Regions from separate parts of the Homo sapiens genome. Here region 1 is linked to region 2. Evidence: promoter capture Hi-C in 16 types of primary human blood cells and fetal thymus (Javierre and others, 2016). All regions are on one chromosome and are shown on one strand. Each heading gives the region's core, a stretch centred on a gene start or on the middle of the fragment in contact. The rest is flanking DNA. Distances are from core to core; before and after follow the strand shown. Region 1 has its middle 180 kb from the start of ROCK1. Region 2 holds the start of GREB1L (GREB1 like retinoic acid receptor coactivator).

Region 1 (7,198 bases), core at 3,056-5,555, 310 kb before region 2:
GAGGATTTCGTTGGAAAAGGGATTAAATATAAAAATAGAAAGCAGCATTCTCAGAAGCTTCTTTGTGATGTTTGCTTTTAAGTCACAGTGTTCAACATTCCCTTTCATAGAGCAGTTTTGAAACACTCTTTCTGTAGTATCTGGAAGTGGACATTTCGAGTGCTTTCAGGCCTATGGTGAAAAAGGAAATATCTTCCGATAAAAACTAGACAGAAGCATTCGCAGAAACTTGTTTGTGATATGTATCCTCAACTATCAGAGTTGAACATTTCATTTGACAGAGCAGTTTGGAAACACGCTTTTTGTAGAATCTGCAAGTGGATATTTGGATAGCTTTGTGGATTTCCTTGGAAACGGGAGTATCTTCATATAAAACCTAGACAGAAACATTCTCAGAAACTGCTATATGATGTCTGCATTCACGTCACAGAGTTGATCATTCCCTTTCATAGAGCAGGTTTGAAACACTCTTTCTGTACTATCTGGATGTGGACACTTGGAGCGCTTTGACGCTTAAGGTGCAAAAGAAATATCTTCCCATAAAAACTAGACAGAAGCATTCTCACAAACTGGATTGTGATGTTTGTCCTCAACTAACAGAGTTGAAACATTTTATTTGCAGAGCAGTTTTGAAAGACTGTTTTTGGAGAATCTTCAAGTGGATATTTGGAGAGCTTTAAGGAATTCATTGGAAACGGGAATATCTTCATATAAAATCTAGACAGAGGCATTCTCAGAAACTTCTTTGTGATGTGTGTCCTCAACTAACGGCGGTACATCCTGTCTTTTGATACAGCAGTTTGGAAACACTCTTTTTGTAGAATCTGCCAGTGGATATTTGCATAGCTCTAATGATTTCTTTGGAAACGGGAATACCTTCATATAAAATCTAGACAGAGGCACTCTCAGAAACTGCTTTGTGATATCTGCATTCAAGTCACACAGTTCAACATTCCCTTTCTTAGAGCAGGTTTGAAACACTCTTTTTGCAGGATCTGGAAGTGGACATTTGGAGCGCTTTGACGCCTTTGGTGATAAAGGAAATGTCTTCACATAAAAACTAGAAAGAAGCATTCTAAGAAACATCTTTGTGATATATGTACTCAACTAACCGAGTTGAACCTTGCTCTTTATAGATCAGCTTTTTAATGCTCTTTTTGTGGAATCTGCAAGTGGATATTTGGATAGCTTTCAGGATTTCGTTGGAAACGGGATTACAAACAAAATGTAGACAGCAGCATTCTCAGAAACTTCTTTGTGATGTTTGCTTTTAAGTCACAGAGTTGAACATTCCCTTCCATAGAGCAGTTTAGAAACACTCTTTCTATAGTATCTGGAAGTGGACATTTCGAGCGATTTCAGGCCTATGTTGAAAAACGAAATATCTTCCCATAAAAACTAGACAGTAGCATACTCAGAAGCTTCTTTGTGATGCTTGCTTTTAAGTCACAGAGTTGAACATTCCCTTTCGTAGAGCAGGTTTCAGACACTCTTTCTGTAGTATCTGGAAGTGGACATTTCGAGTGTTTTCAGGCCTATGGTGAACAAGGAAATATCTTCCCATAAAAACCAGACACAAGCATTTGCAGAAACTTGTTTGTGATGCGTGTCCTCAACTCACAGAATAGAACATTTCGTTTGACAGAGCAGCTTGGAAACACGCTTTTTGTAGAATCTGCAATTGGATATTTGGATAGCTTTGTGGATTTCTTTGGAAACGGGAGTATCTTCATATAAAACCTAGACGGAAACATTCTCAGAAACTCCTTTGTAATGTCTGCATTCACGTCACAGATTTGAACATTCCCTTTCATAGAGCAGGTTTGAAACACTCTTTCCGAAGTATCTGGATGTGGACACTTGGAGCGCTTTGACGCTTACGGTGAAAAGGAAATAACTTCCCATGAAAACTAGACAGAAGCATTCTCACAAACTGGTGTGTGATGTATGTCCTCAGCTAACAGAGTTAAACCTTTCTATTTACAGAGCAGTTTTCAAAGACTCTTTTTGGAGAATCTGCAAGTGGATATCTGGAGATCTTTAAGGATTTCATTGGAAACCGGAATATCTTCAGGTAAAATCTAGACAGAGGCATTCTCAGAAACTTCTTCGTGATGTGCGTCCTCAACTAACAGAGTACAACCTGTCTTTTGATACATCAGTTTGGAAACACTCTTTTTGTAGAATCTGGAAGTGGATATTTCGATAGCTCTAACGATTTTGTTGAAAACGGGAATAGCTTCATATAAAATCTAGGCAGAGGCACTCTCAGAAACTAATTTTGTGAGATCTGCATTCAAGTCACAGAGTTGAACATTCCCTCTCGTAGATCTGGTTTGAAACACTCTTTTTTTGTATCTGGAAGTGGATCTTTGGAGCTCTTTGACGACTTTGGTGAAAAAGGAAATATGTCCCCATAAAAACTACACCAAAGCATTCTCAGAAACTTGTTTGTGTTGTGTGTACTCATCTGACAGAGTTGAACGTTTCTTTTTACACAGCAGTTTTGAAACACTCTTTTTGTAGAATCTGCAAGTGGATAATTGGATGACTTTAAGGATTTCGTTGGAAACGGGACTATATTCATGTAAAATCTACACAGAAGCATTCTCAGAATCTTCTTTGTGATGTGTGTCCTCAACTAACAGAGTTCAACCTTTCTTTTGATACAGCAGTTTGGAAACACTCTTTTTGTAGAATCTTCAAGTGGATATTTGGATAGCTCTAACGATTTCGTTGGAAACGGGAATGTCTTCATATAAAATCTGTACAGAAGCACTCTCAGGAGCTACTTTGTGATATCTGCATTCAGGTCACAGAGTTGAACATTCCCTTTCTTAGAGCACGTTTGAAACACACTTTTTGTAGTATCTGGAAGTGGACATTTGGAGCGCTTTCACGCCTTTGGTGAAAAAGGAAATGTCTTCCCATAAAAACTAGACAGAAGCATTCTAAGAAACTTCTTTGTGATATATGCACTCAACTAACCGAGTTGAACCTTTCTCTTTATAGATCAGTTTGAAATGCTCTTTTTGTGGAATCTGCAAGTGGATATTTGGATAGCTCTGAGGATTTCGTTGGAATCGGGATTACATATAAAATATAGACAGCAGCATTCTCAGAAGCTCCTTGTGATGTTTGCTTTTAAGTCACAGAGTTGAACATTCCCTTCCATAGAGCAGTTTTGAAACACTCTTTCTGTAGTATCTCTAAGTGGACATTTCGAGCGATGTCAGGCCTATGTTGAAAAAGGAAATAACTTCCCATAAAAAGTAGACAGAAGCATTCTCAGAAACTTATTTGTGATGGGTGTCCTCAACTAACAGAGTTGAACGTTTCTTTTGATACAACAGTTTAGAAACACTCTTTTTGTAGTATCTGCAAGCGGATATTTCGATAACTTTGAAGATTTCGTTGGAAACGGGAATATCTTCATATACAATCTAGACAGAGGCACTCTCAGAAACTGCTTTGTGATGTCTGCATTCAAGTCACAGAATTGAACATTCTCTTTCATCGAGCACGTTTGTAACACCGTTTCTGTAGTATCTGGATGTGGACATTTGAGCGCTTTGACGCGTACGGTGACATAGGAAATATCTTCCCTTAAAAACTAGACAGAAGCCTTCTCACAAACTGCTTTGTGATGTATGTCCTCCACTAACAGAGTTGAACCTTTCTATTTACAGGGCAGTTTTGAAAGACTCTTTTTGTAGAATCTGCAAGCGGATATTTGGATACCTTTAAGTAGATTTCATTGGAAACGGAAAAGTCATTCTCAGAAACTTCTTTGTGATATGTGTCCCCACCTAACAGAGTACAACCTGTCTTTGGATACAGCAGTTTGGAAACACTCTTTTTGCAGAATCTGCAAGTGGATATTTGGATAGCTCTGACGATTTCCTTGGAAACGGGAATATCTTCATATAAAATCTAGACAGAAGCACTCTCAGGAGGTACTTTGTGATATCTGCATTCAAGTCACAGAGTTGAACATTCCCTTTCATAGAGCTGGTTTGAAACACTCTTTTTGTTGTATCTGGAAATGGATCTTTGGAGCGCTTTGCCGACTTTGGAGAAAAAGGAAATATCTTCCCATAAAAACTAGACAGAAGCATTCTCAGAAACTTGTTTGTGATGTGTGTACTCAACTGACAGAGTTGAACGTTTCTTTTTACACAGCAGTTTTGAAACACTCTTTTTGTAAAATCTGCAAGTGGATAATTGGATGGCTTTAAGGATTTCCTTGGAAACGGGACTATATTCATGTAAAATCTACACAGAAGCATTCTCAGAAACTTCTTTGTGATGTGTGTCCTTAACTAACAGAGTTCAACCTTTCTTTTGATACAGCAGTTTCGAAACACTCCTTTTGTAGAATATGCAAGTGGATATTTGGATAGCTCTAACGATTTCATAGGAAATGGGAATACCTTCATATAAAATCTAGACAGAGGCACTCTCAGAAACTGCTTTGTGATATCTGCACTCAAGTCACAGAGTTGAACATTCCCTTTCTTAGAGCAGGTTTGAGACACTTTGTAGTATCTGGAAGTGGACATTTTTAGCGCTTTGACGCCTTTGGTGAAAAAGGAAATGTTTTCCCATAAAAACTAGACAGAAGCATTCTAAGAAACTTCTTTGGGATATATGTACTCAACTAACAGAGTTGAACCTTTCTATTTATAGGTCAGTTTTGAGAAGCTCTTGTTGTGGAATCTGCAAGTGGATATTAGGATAGCTCTGAGGATTTCCTTGGAAACGGGATTACATATAAAAAGTAGACAGCAGCATTCTCAGAACCTTCTTTGTGATGTTTGCTTTTAAGTCACAGAGTTGAATATTCCCTTACATAGAGCAGGTTTGAAACACTATTTCTGTAGTATCTGGACATGGACATTTCGAGCGATTTCAGGCCTATGTTGAAAACGGAAATATCTTCCCATAAATACTAGACAGAAGCATTCTCAGAAATTTCTTTGTGATGTGTGTCCTCAACTAACAGAGTTCATCCTTTCTTATGATACAGCAGTTTTGAAACACTCTTTTTGTAGAATATGTAAGTGGATAGTTGGATAGCTCTCATTATTTCATTGGAAACGGGAGTATCAACATAGAAAACCTAGACAGAAAAATTCTCAGAAACTGCTTTATGATGTCTGCATTCACGTCACAGAGTTGATCATTCCCTTTCATAGAGCAGGTTTGAAACACTATTTCTGTAGTATGTGGACATGGACATTTCGAGCGATTTCAGGCCTATGTTGAAAACGGAAATATCTTCCCATAAAAACTAGACAGAAGCATTCTCAGAAATTTCTTTGTGATGTGTGTCCTCAACTAACAGAGTTCATCCTTTCTTATGATACAGCAGTTTGGAAACACTCTTTTTGTAGAATATGTAAGTGGATAGTTGGATAGCTCTCACTATTTCGTTGGAAACGGGAGTATCAACATAGAAAACCTAGACAGAAACATTCTCAGAAACTGCTTTATGATGTCTGCATTCACGTCACAGAGTTGATCATTCCCTTTCATAGAGCAGGTTTGAAACCCTCTTTCCGTAGTATCTGGATGTGGACACTTGGAGCGCTTTGACGCTTACGGTGCAAAAGGAAATATCTTCCCATAAAAACTAGACAGAAGCATTCTCACAAACTGGATTGTGATGTTTGTCCTCAACTAACAGAGTTGAAACTTTCTATTTACAGAGCACTTTTGAAAGACTCTTTTTGGAGAATCTGCAAGTGGATATTTGGAGAGCTTTAAGGATTTCATTGGAAACGGGAATATCTTCATATAAAATCTAGACAGAGGCATTCTCAGAAACTTCTTTGTGATGTGTGTCCTCAACCAACGGAGTACATCCTGTCTTTTGATACAGCAGTTTGGAAACACTCTTTTTGTAGAATCTGCAAGTGGATATTTGGATAGCTCTAACGATTTCGTTGGAAACGGGAATATCTTCATAAAAAATCTAGACAGAAGCACTCTCAGAAACTACTTTGTGATATCGGCATTCAAGTCACAGAGTTGAACATTCCCTTTCATGGAGCAGGTTTGAAACACTCTTTTTGTAGTATCTGGAAGTGGACCTTTGGAGCCCTTTAATGATTTTGGTGAAAAAGGAAATATCTTCCCATAAAAACGAGACAGAAGCATTCTCAGAAACTTGTTTGTGATTTGTGTACTCAACTAACAGAGTTGAACCTTTCTTTTTACAGAGCCGTTTTGAAACACTCTTTTTGTAGAATCTGCAAGTGCATATTTGAATGGCTTTAAGGATTTCGTTGGAAATGGCAATATCTTCATGTAAAACCTACACAGAAGCATTCTCAGAAACTTCTTTGTGATGTGTGTCCTCAACTAACAGAGTTGAACCTTTCTTTTGACAGAGCAGTTTTGAAACACTCTTTTTGTAGGATCTGCAAGTGGATATTTGGATAGCTTAGAGGATTTCCTGGGAAATGGGAATATATTCATATGAAATCTAGACAGAAGCATTCTCAGAAACTTCTTTGTGATCTTTTCATTCAACTCGTAGAGTTGAACATTCCCTTTCATAGAGCCAGTTTGAAACACTCTTCTTGTAGTATCGGGAAGTGGACATTTGGAGCGCTCTGACGCCTATGGTGAAAATGGAAATATCTTCCCATAAAAACTAGACAGAAGGATTCTCAGAAACATGTTTGTGATGTATGTACTCAGCTAAGAGAGTGGAACCTTTCTTTTTACAGAGCAGCTTTGATACACTATTTTTGTAGAATCTGCAATTTGATATTTTGATTGCTTTAAAGATATCGTTGGAAACAGGAATATCTTCATATAAAATCTAGACAGAAGCACTCTCGGAAACGACTTTGTGATATCTGCATTCAAGTCTCAGAGTTGAACGTTCCCTTTCTTAGAGCAGGTTTGAAACACTCTTTTTGTAGTATCTGGAAGTGGACATTTGGAGCGCTTTGACGCCTTTGGTGAAAAAGGAAATGTCTTCCCATAAAAACTAGACAGAAGCATTCTAAGAAACTTCTTTGGGATATATGTACTCAACTAACAGAGTTGAACCTTTCTATTTATAGATCAGTTTTGAAACGCTCTTTTTGTGGAATCTGCAAGTGGATATTTGGATGGCTTTGAGGATTTCGTTGGAAACGGGATTATATATAAAAAGTAGACAGCAACATTCTCAGAAGCTTCT
Region 2 (7,854 bases), core at 3,276-5,775:
TCAAATGGTAGATTCTCTCCTTATGATTGGTGATATTTTTTATCTGCTCATATTTCTAAGTGAAGATCTAGATCATTCAGCATTGGTAACTGGCATCCGATCTGGAATTAGAGAGACCTTTGTTCGGTTCCCCACAGTGTATCTTCCCCTCTGACGAAGATGGTGGTAGGTTGGTTTTCCTTTCCAGTGAATTGGCTTTGAGTGGGAAAGTAGTAGCACCCTTTCTAGTAGAAGGTGAATTCTTTTTTTTTTTTTTTTGAGACGGAGTCTCACTCTGTCACCCAGGCTGGACTGCAGTGGCATGATCTCGGCTCACTGCAAGCTCTGCCCCCGAGTTCACGCCATTCTCCTGCCTCAGCCTCCTGAGCAGCTGGGACTACAGGCGCCCACCACCACGCCTGGCTAATTTTTTATATTTTTAGTAGAGACGGGGTTTCACCATGTTAGCCGGGATGGTCTCAATCTCCTGACGTTGTGATCGGCCCGCCTCGGCCTCCCAAAGTGCTGGGATTACAGGCGTGAGCTACCGCGCCCGGCCAGAAGGTGAATTCTTATAATGCATGCGTATGCTGAGCCACTAAGCCTCAGATCTTAAATTGAGAGAAAGGGAAACACAGTGAGGAAGCAAAGAAATAAAGTATTTGCAGCTTTGCCCAGGAAAGAACTTTGGGTATGATTACTGGTCCATGGAACTCATAGGAAGAGAATAGTCTACTAAGTGTCTAAGAAAACCGTAAGGTCAAATCAGCTATAAACCTGGCCTTTAAAATGCCTTACATGTAGGCCAGGAGTCGTGGCTTATGCCTATAATCCCAGCACTTAGGGAGGCAGAGACTGGAGGATGGCTTGAGCCCAGAAGTTTGAGACCTGCCTGGGCAACATAGCAAGACCTCGTTGTCCACAAAAAGGAAAAACAAACAAACAAAACCAAAAACAAAACAAAATCCTTAAGTATGAATGAGCCCTCAGGACTCCAAACTTATACCAGCAGGAAATGCGCTGTGAAAACTGTGAAGTCTCTGGAGGGCTTACTTCCTAGTTGCACTTCAGATATGGTCATGGAGAATAATGAACAAGGAAGAATATTCCAGAGTGTGGAGCCAAGGGCCACAGAAATAAATGCAAAGTGGTGTTCATCCTTGAGAGCAGAACCAGGATGTAATCATAGAACTTCCTCCACTGCCAAGGTGAAGGATCGTCACAGTAACTACCCAGAAGGATTCTGCCATTTATGTATGAACTCTGTTGTGAGTCTCATATTTTTCACTAAATTTAGGGTTTTAAGGCAGCGTATCTATGTAGAAACACTTGGGAATCACTGTTATGGGAGAGAGTGGAGGGATGCACAGGCAATGATCACAGTCAACATTTAATAGTGTTCCGGGCTGGGCATGGTGGCTCATACCTGTAATCCCAGCACTTTGGGAGGCTGAGGCGAGCAGATCACCAGAGGTCAGGAGTTTGAAACCAGCCTGCCAACATGGCGAAACCCCGTCTCTACTAAAAATACAAAAAATTAGCCAGGCGTGGTGGCGGGCACCTGTAATCCCAGCTACTCAGGAGGCTGAGGCAGGAGAATCGCTTGAACCTGGGAGGCAGAGGTTGCAGTGAACCGAGTTCATGCCACTACACTCCAGCCTGGGCAACAAGAGCAAAACTCTGTCTCAAAAAAAAAAAAAAAAAAAAAAAAAAAAAAAAAAGTGTTTCAGGCACTAATGCATCTTCTTTTTTTTTTTTTCTTTTTGAGACATAGTCTCACTCTGTCACCAGGCTGGAGTCAGGATTCAAAACTATGGGACCTTTTTTCAGAATGTTCACTCTGAACCCTATCATCTTTTATAATTATGGAGGTCTACTGGGCATGCTGAGGGACATAGAAATCCCAAAGGGAAGACAAGGCAGAAACACAAATTCAGGACACAGGAGTGTGAAATCTTTTTTTTTTTTTTTGAGTCGGAATTTTGTTCTTGTTGCCCAGGCTGGGGGTGCAATGGCGCAATTTGGCTCACTCCAACCTCCGCCTCCAGGATTCAAGCGATTCTCCTGCCTCAGCCTCCCAAGTAGCTGAGAATACAGGTGTGTGCCACCAACACCTAGCTAATTTTGCATTTTTAGTAGAGATGGGGTTTCACCATGTTGGTCAGGCTGGTCTCGAACTCCTGACCTCAAGTGTTCCACCTGCCTTGGCCTCCAAAGGGCTGGGATTACAGGCGTGAGACACTGTACCCGGCTGGGAGTTTGTTATCTAATGAAGATGGCATTGAACTCTTTTCAATCTACCAGGATATATAGATTACTCTCACTTTTACCCTTGTTAGGGACTTGCCTTGTTTACTGACAAATCACCACTACTACTGATATATTGTGCCGTCTAACTCACATTAGGTGCTCAATATCTGTTGAATGGATGAAGAATGAATACCAGAGTCCTGTAATATTAGACTATGGTCCTTGAGTGACTGCCAGATTTGCTTTCACATTTCTAGGGTCTAGTGTACCTGGCACTCAACAAATGGTCCTTGCACTAAGAGAGAAAACTGCACTGGTGGTTTTACTTTAAAGCGGCTCCTTGTTCAGTGTCCTTATCTTTAAATTGGAAGGTGTTTTGCTTCTGCCCAACCCCCACACACTCTACAGACCTTGTGATGGGTTGAGTTTTTCAAAAGATTCTCACCTGCTTTAACTTCTATGAGCTTAGTTTATATTCACCAGGTGAACTTAAAATTTCAGTTTCTACAGCACTGTCTTTTCCACGTGTATGGCCAGTTCTCATGATGAGTTTACTAAGTGACTTTGGATTCTTTTAGCTATTGCTAATCATCTGCACCTTTCTGTTGTAGTTATTTTAAAGCCCGCCCGCGCGCGCGCGCGCACACACACACACACACACACACACACACACACTCTTGAGTCAGGGTCTCTGTCACCCAGGCTAAAAGCGCTGGGACTACAGACATGAGCCACCGCGTGGGGCCAAAAACATACGGATTTTATTTACTAAACCTGTATTGTGTGCATGACCCAGAATTGTGGGAGTACAGCAATGACTGAGAAAGCCGTGTTTCCCACCTTCGTGGCACATAACAATGTTTCTATGGGTTTTTAAAGGCCCAACAACAGGGATTCAATTATAAAATAAAAATATTTCGGTACAAAACATGATTTAAAAAAAGACAACTATGTCTTCCGAGTGGAGGAGGGAAAGGACAATCAAACCTCGAACAAATCGTTTATCTTGCTAGTCACAGCTTAGCTATGCCTTGTTATTTTCCGGTGATTCCAAACTTCCAGTCCATTCCCTCTGCATGGATCAAAAGTGACAGGAAAGAAAAAAATGTATTTCGGATATGGCAAAAAAGAAAAATGCAAGACAAGCAAACAAAAGTACTGGGACATCGTATGAGAACTAGTTTAATTGACAATGTCTTTAAATGGTACCTATCACTTGACAATGATTCCAACCCACCCGGGCCTGGGCGCCGCGGCTGCCTCCCCACTCCCACGCACACGGGGAGCTCCCCCGGGCTGTACTGCACTAAAGGCACTCAAAATACATCAGCCTTTCCTTACCTCGATTCTTCCACCACATCCAGCATGGAGCTGCTGCTTCCAGAGATGTAGTCGCCTATCTGTGGCAACAATTAGTTTTAAAAATGGAGCCGCATCTCTAATAACAAAAGCCTCCAGCTGTGAAAAGTGGAGCTAAATCTCTCTACCGGGCCGCAGCATCTCTCAAGAACCTTTTCCCCGCAGCACCCGTCAAGGCCCAGGGCCAGCTGGACGCGGCTGCCCTGGGGTGGAGCCGTCCCCGTGGTCCCGGGAGGCTACCGACGAGCCGGGGCCCGGGGCCGGAGGGCGTGCTCCTCCGGGAGGTGCAAAAGTCGGCTTGGGCCCGGAGCTCCCGGGTTTGTTTGGTTTTGTCCGCGCCCTGCCCCCACCCTACCCCCTTCATGCAAAAGGCCAAGGGTTTCCGAGCCACCACTGCCCAGGCCGAGTTCACGCTTGGGGCTCTTCAGCCGCCGTCCAGTGAACAGAGAAAGCAATTGCGCAGAGGCGAGAGCAGGCTGAATGAACGCGGGCTCCAGGGGAAATAATTTTTCCTCCTGGCTTCGCGCGTCAGCACACTGGGGTGCAGCCCTCCCTCACAGAAGACCCCCCCCCCGCACGACCCCCTGTACACCCCCGCGGGGCTGCGCGTTCGTCTGTGCGGCGGGGTTTGGGAATGGAGGCGTGAGGACCGCGCATCGAGGGCTCCACAGGCTGGGCGGGGGGCGTCGTTGGAGGGGGGTAGGGGAGAAATGCGCGCCCACCACCCTCACAGAGGGCGAGGGACCCCCAAAAGCCACTCGCGGACGCCGAGGCAGCGGGAAGGCGCGAGGCGGGGCGGGGGGAGGGGGCGCGGGGGTCCCCGCTGCGGAGGCCAGGGCGGGCGGGAGGGGCAGCACCTGAGGAATCCGCCTCCGGCTGCGGCGGCCGCCGCCTCGCTCCGCCCCGGGGAACTGAGCGCGCGGACCGCGCGCCTGCCAGAGAGACGCCAGCCGCCGGCGGCGCTAGCACCTCGGAGTCGGGCGGCCGGAGCAGCGGAGCGCAGCGCGGCGCAGGGAACGGCACTGGGGGTGGGGAGACCAGCCCGGCCGAGCCGAGGGCCACCCCCTGGTCCTCTGCCCTCGCGCCCCGCTAGGGCCAGGTGAGCGGCCGCGGGGACTCCGGGGCGCGGGCAGGAGGTGAGAGGTCGCGAACCGGGCGCGGGAGCTCGCCTGTGACCGGCAGGAGCTGCCCTTTGGCGGGCTGGACGCCCTGGCCGCGCGGGGAAGCGCCGCAGCGGACTTTTCCGGAGGGATGGGAAGCTCAGCGGGGGTGTGAGCGGAGCGCGTGCGGGTGGCGAGGGAGCGCCAGTGCCAACCTGGGAGCCGTGCCTGCCTTCCCTGCCGCCTCGCGTCGCCCACCGAAGGGACCCGGCCGTGCTGTCCGCGCCCAGAGGCCGAAGGCCTGTCACCGGGCTCTACTCGCTGCCTTTGTGGCGGGAGCGAGACGGCCCGGGGGTGGGACGAGGGAGCTGCGGCGCGCCGAGTAGCGCGGGGTCCCCCGGCGGAGGCGGCGAGGGGGCACCTGGTTCGTCTCCCCGAGCCCAGGGGCAGTGAGGGGGTGCCGGGCAGGCGGGCGGGCGACAGGTAGGGCGCCGCGGAGGTGGCGGGGAGAGGATGGATGGAGTTCAGCCTGGGAAAGTTGAGAACGTCCAGAGGTGGCTGGGCGCTCGCTCGGCGTCTGTGGGTTTTTTTCCTCAACACCAAATGTCACTTCGTCACGAGCGGGCGCGCGTGTCTTCCGGCCAGCATGTCCATTTTTCTGTGCATGGCTGAGGACCACTCTTATTCCGAATGAGACACAAAGAGTTGTGTTGACAGCTGACCCTGACACAAGCAGACAGCGAGTGAGGTGCGCCCTGGCCGGGGAGGGTGAGGGAGACTCGTTAAAGGAAATCCATTCCCGCCGTCCCTCTTCCCAGCTCCATTAAGAGGAAACTCCATGTGGAGATTCAGTGCGTGGGGTTTCTCAGTTACATGAGTCCAAGGAACGTCCCCGAACGCGACTCGTTTGCCCGGAACTGCCGCTGCCTCTAACCGAGGCTGCGGGTCCTGGAGAAACTCCTCAGTCTTGCCCCTTTCTCCGGTGAACGTGACGGTTCCAAGGTCCTTATCCTCCCCACCCACTCCTCTGGCCCCGGCTGAGAGGATAGAAACCACATTTTAATTTCTGCTTTTCACACCGTAAGGTGTTTTTTTCCGCCTCCCCCCGCCTCGAGGCGGGAATCCCTGCTTAAATCACATTTTTAAACCTAGCCGTTTAAATACAGGGAAGAGCTTTCCCACAAAAGGTTTTTGAACTCAGTCCCCCTTAATAAAACCTCTCATTCATCTATATATGTTCTTAGACTTTAAATCCTGGAACTCTGCTTTGAGTGTTGTGACTGTGTTGTTTCTTCTCTTTGCTGAAATTTTCTAGGAGGTTTTGTGAATGATACTGAAAAATTATTTAAAAGAGAAAAAATTAAATTGTTGAAATATTTAGTAATACAGTTACATGCATATAGGTATGTATTTCAAGAGGAAAATGTTTAATGAATGAATATATAAGTAGGGTAAACATTTCAAACAACAGTGAAGAGTATACAGTGTAAATTAAGCCCTCTTTCCTCTCCTCCATACAAGCCTTCATCCTTCTCAGAGGCAGCCACTGTTGTATATTTTTTGTATATCTTTCCGTAAGTCTATTAAAATGGAATTACATTATAGATGATGAAAGGGATTGAATATAAGACTGAACTATATATTCGTGGTGATGACCATTAACTTGATACCCACTCATGATGACATGAGATTATTTAGCCAAATGTGGACAATTATTACCTTGAAGATCAGTTAGAGGGCTAAAAATCTTAGAACAGTATGCAGTGGAAAGCAAAACTATTAAACTAATATCTCCTCCTGCACACACACCAGTTTCCCTACACTGGTTTTTGCAATCTTTATTGAATTTTTCCTCCATTTTGGAATTCTTTATGAAGTAGAGAATGAGAACTGTAGTAGTTTACTTTGTCTACCGCAGTGTGTATCTGAAAACACTGAAAGGGCGTGTGTATACTCCCATTGACATGACATAATATAAAGATGTTAGTGGTAAAGGATAAATACGAAGGCCGAGTTTCAGATGTTTGGTTGCATCTCTTAATTCTAGGCCTGGATTTGCCACAAACCCGCCACACGACGTAACTTTTTTTTGGAAAACTTTGTTTCCCACTCAGTTAGATAAAGGAATTGAACTATGTGATTTTTAAGGGTCCTTCGAACTCCAGAGTTCTACGATTAAAATAGTTGTCCTAAAACTGGCTAAAGATAACCATTGGACTGTGGATGTTAGACAGTGGGGCGACAAAAAACATTCCTGAATGGTGGATTCATGAAGAGGAGGTTAGAGATGTTTAAACTATATCCCTGCTCTTACGAGTTTGATGTCATTGGAGAACAGCTACTCTCCTTACCCACAGAATGTGTGTTTATGTTGCTGATAGAGGCCAAACACCGGGCTGAGGGCCTCTCATGTCACCTTGTGTGGCTAAGGAGAGTGAATTCTCCTCGCAGCCCACAGTGTCATTTTTAGGAAAATTACTCTTACCAAACTCTTCTTTTTGGTAAAGTGGAAATTAACTTTACCTACTTGAAAGAGACTTGACATAATTTAATTTATACTTCTCTGAAGTGTTTAGATTATGAACATCCCTTATAGCTAAGATATTTTAGTTACTTGATAAATATTCACCTAGGGAGTATGTTCTTATTAGGAAACTTCTAATTTGTAAAGTACCTGCAGCCTTTGGGCTAATGATGGGGACAGGAGTTAAGGAGTGATTGTAAGGTTGTGAAAGTAAAAATTAGCTGATTTTAGTGACTGCGTATGGTCTAAATTAAGGGATTTCAAAGGTACACTGTAAGCGATGATTGCAAAAAGTGTTGATGTTAAGATAGAGATCTCATACTGAAAGCTAAAGCTTTCTAAAAGCACCGCTGATGAAACATATGTAATTATTTTGAATAAGTCTAATATAAATTATAAATTCGCTGTAGGAATTGTTTGGGATCCTAAGAATAAGAACTAGAAGAATATATTTGTAAGGGTACTTAGAGTAATATTGATTGATTAATGAAGCTGACAGAAACAAAAGAAAATTCAATACCAGTAGTGAAATTCTTCAAAATGGTAATGGTTTTTATTTTTTCCAGCTCCCTTCCCAATCTTGCCATATGAATGAATATTTTTACAAATGTTTTATATTGCAGATAATTTTCACCCTGTTTT

The links. Contacts are between HindIII fragments. The CHiCAGO score rates a contact against its expected background, and 5 or more counts as called.
Region 1: a fragment that was not itself captured here is called in contact with the fragment with the promoter of GREB1L in region 2 in 10 of 17 cell types (total CD8 T cells, activated CD4 T cells, naive CD8 T cells and 7 more); the score reaches 11.7 in total CD8 T cells.

What each region holds. Positions count from the first base shown.
Region 1 is chr18:20,930,257-20,937,454 of GRCh38, forward strand. No RefSeq gene overlaps it. Among named protein-coding and RNA genes, the nearest start is that of ROCK1, 180 kb to the right of the region's middle. RefSeq lists enhancers at 2,858-3,465, 3,466-4,071, 4,072-4,679, 4,680-5,285, 5,286-5,893 and 6 more. The HindIII fragment of the contact is 5,772 bases long and covers 1,420-7,191 here.
Region 2 is chr18:21,237,707-21,245,560 of GRCh38, forward strand. It overlaps GREB1L (GREB1 like retinoic acid receptor coactivator), which reads left to right and starts at 4,526. Exons shown (of 33, transcript NM_001142966.3): 1 at 4,526-4,687. GREB1L-DT (GREB1L divergent transcript) reads right to left here and starts at 5,022. Exons shown (of 3, transcript NR_183513.1): 1 at 4,904-5,022; 2 at 3,571-3,629; 3 at 2,969-3,301. The HindIII fragment of the contact is 7,916 bases long and covers 1-7,544 here.